Regions from separate parts of the Homo sapiens genome. Here region 2 is linked to region 1. The links are contacts of gene promoters, found by promoter capture Hi-C in blood cells and fetal thymus (Javierre and others, 2016). All regions are on one chromosome and are shown on one strand. The core of a region is centred on a gene start or on the middle of the fragment in contact, and the rest is flanking DNA. Distances in the headings are between cores, read along the strand shown.

What was found. The method cuts DNA at HindIII sites, captures the fragments that hold promoters and counts their contacts. A CHiCAGO score of 5 or more calls a contact.
Region 2: a contact is called between a fragment that was not itself captured here and the fragment with the promoter of GALNT10 in region 1, in 1 of 17 cell types (total B cells). The highest score is 6.4, in total B cells.

What each region holds. Positions count from the first base shown.
Region 1 is chr5:154,189,119-154,192,256 of GRCh38, forward strand. It overlaps GALNT10 (polypeptide N-acetylgalactosaminyltransferase 10), which reads left to right and starts at 1,615. Exons shown (of 12, transcript NM_198321.4): 1 at 1,615-1,907. The coding sequence starts at 1,749. LOC124901118 (a long non-coding RNA gene) reads right to left here and starts at 961. Exons shown (of 2, transcript XR_007059010.1): 1 at 878-961. RefSeq lists an enhancer at 25-990 and silencers at 1,211-1,300, 1,391-1,490, 1,501-1,610, 1,701-1,780, 1,851-1,910. The HindIII fragment of the contact is 10,101 bases long and covers 1-2,521 here.
Region 2 is chr5:154,877,235-154,880,372 of GRCh38, forward strand. It overlaps LOC124901119 (a long non-coding RNA gene), which reads left to right and starts at 1,525. Exons shown (of 2, transcript XR_007059011.1): 1 at 1,525-1,858. The HindIII fragment of the contact is 3,573 bases long and covers 1-3,138 here.

The sequences.
Region 1 (3,138 bases), core at 365-2,864:
TAACTAGACACGGAAGGATGAACAAGATTTCCACCGACCTAGAGAAGGGGGTTTTATGGGTAGAAGGAGCTGCGTGGTCAACAGCACAAGAAGGAAAACACAAAGCCTGCAACAGGCTAAGCGAAGCTCAGGGCAGGGCAGGGCAGGGCACGGCAGGAGACAGAACGTTTGATCAGCCCTAGCAGGTCATAGGAGAGGAGCATGATGGACTCTAGAGCCGAGGTGATGGAAGCCTTGAAGGTTTTGCTGCAGAAATCAAGAACTGAGCTGTGATGTCAGAAAACTGAATCCCCATCGCTCAGCCTGGAGCTGGAAGAACTTGGAGGCAAGAGTTGCCAGAACGCTGGTCAAGGACTAGTGGCAGCTAGGCACGAAGGTCAGCGGCTGAGCTAGAGAAGCAGAGAATCAAGAGGACGAATGTGGGGGTGGCAGAGAGTAAGGTAGCCAAGGGGGTGCTCCGTTCCACCGCATCAGGGAGGAGGCAGCTAAGTGACCAGCGTCGAGCGCCCCGAGGAGGAGCCGCTGGCTGGCATCACCGTCGGAGTCCGGCTCCACGGCCCTCCGCATCGCCCAGAAGCCCGACTCCTCTGTCAAAGCCCTCGCCACAGTTACAGACACATTGCCTGGTCTAGTGAAATTACGTGTTTCATGTTTCAGCTCCCAGACGTCAGGGCTCAGGTCTGTTTTCATTTCATCCCAGAGCCTGGCACAGTGTTTGGCACATAGTGGCGCTCGCCAACGGTTTGCTGAGAGCTTTCCGGGAAGGGCTCAGTGCGCTTAGGATCCAAAAGCACGCGTGAGAATGCAGGGCATTCTAACTCCAAGGGGGTTGGACTTGCGTGAGGAAAGGTGCTGCAGAGAGGCTACCGTCACTTACCCACCCGCCGGTTTGCAGGATCTACAGACGGGCGGCGGCCGGGCACAGCTCCCTACAGTTTGCAGAGGGCGTTCACACCTAACGCCAGGGCCCCCCTAGAGGAAGAAAACCAGGGCCCGCCCGCGGAACAGTGAGCGTGCAGCACGGCTGTGGCCCCGTTTCATGGCCGGGAACACCGAGTCGCCGGGGTCAAAGTAGGTCCGCAGGTCCTGGGGGCCGAGCCTAGGTGGGCTGGAAGTGACAGCCCCGGGGGCTCCAGGCTCAGAACGCCCGGCGGGGCCCCAGCACTATTTGCATATCCCCAGGGAGGCAGCAAAGGTTCGGCTGCAGTCCCGGGCGGAGGTTGCCGGGCGGGGCGGCAGGGTACCCGGGCGAGCGGACATGCACCCCACCCAGCGGTGCCCAGCCCGCACCAGTTAGCGCCCAACTCGCCAACTCCGGGACTTTCGCAAAGCTCCAGAGGGCGGGGGAGCCGCCGAGGAGTGGGACGGACCATCGCGGCTCGAGAGGGGGGAAGCGCTCCGGCCCGGCATCCTGCAGCGCCCGGGCGGGCCGAGACGCTCCGTGAGAGGGCCGAGCCTGCAGCGCAGAGACTCGGCGGTCGACGCGGGGGCAGGCGGCGCGGGGCGGGCGGCTCGGCGGGGCCCGGGGGCGGTGGCGGCGGCGACGACCCCCTCGTGGCGGCGGCGTGGTGGCGGCGCCCAGCTCCCCGGCCGGCGAGCGGCGGAAGTGCCGCGGAGTTGGAGCGGGGCCGGCGCCGCAGCCGCTTCTGCTGGCTGAGCTGCTGCCGCCGCCGGGCGGACGGGCGGACGCGCGGAGCTGGGGGCGGCGCGGCGGGGCCGGCGGGGCGCGGCGGGGCTGACCGGCCCCGATGAGGCGGAAGGAGAAGCGGCTCCTGCAGGCGGTGGCGCTGGTGCTGGCGGCCCTGGTCCTCCTGCCCAACGTGGGGCTTTGGGCGCTGTACCGCGAGCGGCAGCCCGACGGCACCCCTGGGGGATCGGGGGCGGCGGTGGCGCCGGCGGCGGGACAGGTGAGTCCCCCCGTTGCTACAGGCCGGGAACACCCCCTTCCCGAATTCACTTTTAGCCTGTGGTTCCTTCCTCCACCTTCTGCTGTCTGCCTCCTCAGAGTCAGCTCCGAGACTCTTCAGCTCTTCCCATTTTCCGGATGGGAAAATTAAGTCCTGTCGGGACTTGTCCAGGGTCCCACGCCAGTCAGAGACTGAGTCCGAACTAGCACTCAGGACGCTATTTCTCACCACATGTTACCACCTTCCTTTCTGTCCCCGTCTGGTATTCCTTGACGTCTTCCAGCGGATCTCTTTTGAAGGATCCTATCTGCATCCCTGTATCCCAGGATGACTCCTGCCTTGTGCCAATAGGAATGAAGATTCTGGTTCTTCTATTTGGTGTCCAGGTCCTCTCTGCTTCCCTCCTCCCACCCCCCCCCCCCCACAACCCCTACCTGCTGATCCCAGTGTTCTTTGCTCAGGTCAGCCCTTTTCCTGATTTCTCATCTGCCCAACGAGACACCCGGGCCTTCCTCCTCTCCCCATTTATTCAACACCCCCGCCCCAACTCTAGCCTTTTCCTTTCTCAGATCCTGTGGATTCCTTGCAGAATGTAAAGATCATGCTCCCTTTAAAGCTTCAAGCCCCTGGGGGTGGAGAAGGGGGTAAGCTCCTGGTCCTTGAGGGACCTGCTGCCTTTGACCTTATGGGAGTCCAGAGGTGGGGCTCTGGTGGGGGGACCCCCAAAATGTCCCAGAGGCTATTGGTGCCCAGTGTCCTGAGGATGGAACACCAGAAGCCTTCCCTATCTCTTCTGAACTTGTCTAGTCTGGTTAGTTGTAGTGTTTATTGCAGCCAAAACTGGGATCGGAATGGTTTCTGCCTCCTTTGAACTTACCCACGTATGTTTGTGTGTATGTGTGCGTGCACGCATTTAGACTAGCAGCTCCCTCATAGCAGAAGCTCTGTCACATCACTCCCACCCTCCCAGGAGGTGCTAGTGAGTGTATTGCTTAGACTGTTTCATATAGTGGAACATTTCAGGCTTTCTTACGGGATTTCTCTGGTCCCATGAGAAGTGGATAATTTGTGTATCAGGGTCAGACTTGACTGACTGTTGGCTGGCCTCGACGAAAGAGGCTGGCTTTTCTGAGATTGATGGTTTTCCTTATTCTTCCCAGTATCAGGCTGCTGTCTAGGCAGTCTGGCATCTGGAGCACAGAGGGCTCTTTGCTACAGAGCTGACCAATTT
Region 2 (3,138 bases), core at 263-2,762, 690 kb after region 1:
GGAAGTTGACAAAACAAGAGATTTATCACTGTAATTTCTGGTGAAACAGCAGTCAGTGGTTCTCAACCAGGGTGCCCTGGCATGCTGGTGACTGTGAGCGCTATGCAGATACCCTTCCAAATTTGAATTAAAGCAGGACATTTAATATTTTCTACAATTAAGGACTTACTTACATGTCAGGAGAAATGCTCAAAGGGTTGAGGAACTCAGTGTTGAGTGTGGGGTTTGGTCATCATTGCATGTGAGAGTTAAGAGCTTAGAGTAGTGCTTTAGCAAGAAAGAGCACAAGTCTTGGAACTGGCAAGAACTTTGTGTGTATGAGTGCATATAGGTCTATGTGAATGCTCATCCTCAAAAAGTGATGGCACTGTAGGGTAACCAAGAGAATCACTTAAGGTGTAATTCTTTCGAGGTTTAGACAGGGTCTCACTCGGTCATCCAGGCTGGAGTGCAGTGGCATGATCTTAGCTCACTGCACCCTCACCCTCCTGAGTAGCTGGGACTACAGGTGCATGCTACCATGTCCAGCTAATGTTTATATTTTTTTAGTAGAGATGGGGTTTCACCATGTTGGGCAAGCTGGTCTCAAACTCCTGACCTCAAGTGATTTGCCTGCCTTGGCCTCCCAAAGTGCTTACAGTCATGAGCCACCGTGCTGGCTTGTAATTCTTTTTTTTTTTTTTTTTTTTTTTTTTTTTGAGACAGAGTCTTGTTCTGTCGCCCAGGCTGGAGTGCAGTGGCATGATCTTGGCTCACTGCAACCTCCGCCTCCCAGGTTCAAGCAATTCTCCTGCCTCAGCCTCCCAAATAGCTGGTGCCAGAAACAGTCAGTTCCTCTTCAAACTTCTTTGTTTCTTTTAGCGACTAATGTCATTTCACATTGCTAGAAGATACATTCTTGTTCTCTAAACAAGCCTTTCCATCTTTGCCATGCCTAAACATGCCCAAACATGCCTTAACGGACAATCCCTCCCTCCCCTCCTTTCTTTTCTTTACAAGTTACGCATTTAGGCTGGGCACAGTGGCTCACGCTTGTAATCCCAGCACTTTGGGAGGCCAAGGCGGGTGGATCATGAGGTCAGGAGATTGAGACCATCCTGGCTAACACAGTGAAACCCTGTCTCTACTAAAAACACAAAAAATTAGCCGGGCATGGTGGTGGGCACCTGTAGTCCCAGCTACTTGGGAGGCTGAGGCAGGAGAATGGCGTGAACCCAGGAGGTGGAGGTTGCAGTGACCCAAGATCGCGCCACTGCACTCCAGCCTGGGCAACAGAGACAGTCTCAAAAAAAACAAAAAACAAAACAAAAAAAAAACAACAAGTTACGCATTTAAATGTTTCAGTTTACTCTGTTTGGAAAAGTTTTACCACTCCTACCCCTTCTTCCCCATCTACCCTATTTGGAAAAATTTCAAGTTTTAGCCAATCGGGTTAGCTTACATTGTGTGGTCCGACTACAGCCAATGGGGAAAGGACACAGAAACAGAAGCTGCATTAGGGATAAAAACTTTTCTCCTTTGTTCAGTGTGCTCTTGCGATCATGACTGTTGCAGGCAGCACCCTTCTCAGAAGTAAATTTGCCTTGCTGAGAAGTCTTTTGAGAGCTCATTTTCTTTGCAACTCCGAGCTCTTATTTCCAACTATTTGGGGGCTCATCTGGCATCCCATTCTCCTCTAGGGAAGGGTCTCTGATCACCTCTCATGAGGAGATGCGTCCTGCTGCCTCATTGCAATGGCCTCAGGAATAAGGAATCAAGACCCACCTGGTGTGACGAATAAACCTGGACTCTCAGCAATGAAGGAAGAAAAGTCCTACAAATACTGTGGCGACCAGGTAACTCCTCTGCACACACCAAGGTAAGAAAAGCTGCGGGGGCGGTGAAGTACTTCTTTGGTGGTCAGGACATCCTGGAGGTTGAAAGTGTGTGAATAAGATGCACAGTTGAGTGCAAAGCAAGTGTGCAGTCCGGATCTGTGGTTCCACGGTCACCTCATATGGCTTAGGGCAGCTTTCCTGTCATGAGGCTTATACCGACCCGCCAATGCTAAGAGGGACCCAAATTCCCATAAGGGAAGTGGCCGGAGAAGGATGAAACAAAAGTAGGGGAGTGCAAGAAACCTCCAGTGGCAGGGGAGGGGTTGAACCTTCAGGGAAAAGGGGGCAAGAAATCTCTCATAAAAGAGGTTGAGCCACACAGACTCAGGAAACTCAGGGAAACACCTAAAACTTCCAGAATGGGAAATACCTCAAGCAGGACAGGAAATAAGAAGGATAAGACAGACAATAAAATTCCCTCTGATAGCCCTCTAGGTCTCATGTTAACATACTGGAAGGATAATGAAAGGACCAAACACAAGAAAAAGCAACAAACGATAAAATATTGCTGTTTTATTTGGACCAAAAAACCTATCCTCAAACCTTCAGTCTTTTGGCCAAAAGTTTCGATCTAGTGAGGATTGGATTTGTCAGCTTTTAATAGGGTATGTCAATAACAAAAGTCCTGTCTCCCAGGAGGAAATAGACTATGCCCTGTGTTGGTGGTGGGGGCCTGTCCTCTGTTCCCTAAAGGATACGGGGGACAAGCCAGAAGCTACTTCTTCTCAAGAAATTAATATCCCTCATCCCAAAAAGTCAACCAACACGTGGGACCCCTTAGACCACCTTCCCCCACCAAACACCACTAACTTCCCTCCCCCTCCAGTAGCTGCAACTGCCCCAGACCCTTCCCCAGCTCACTTTGTTTCTTCCCCTTATAATCCTGACTTGGGGTCTCCCTAGCCTGAATGCCCTTCCCCAGGAAGACTTCAACGTGAGATAGAACAGTGTAAAAAAGATATCCAAAACTTTCCTTTCCCCACTACCTCGAGAATCTGCTCCAACGATCTTTCCCTTAAGGGAAGTGCTTCTAGGAGGAGGGGGCATTTGTTTTGTGAACGCCCTGTTAACCAGTTCAGAAGTCCGAAGCCTAAAAAGGGCTCAAACCACTCTTAGACAATCCCTATGGAGTAGCAGATCAAATTGATCAATTTCTAGGACCCCAGTTGTATACTTGGACTGAGTTAATGTCCATCCTAGGCATCCTCTTTTCGGGAGAGGAAAGAAGCATGATCTGCACTATGACGGTTTGGGAACGTGA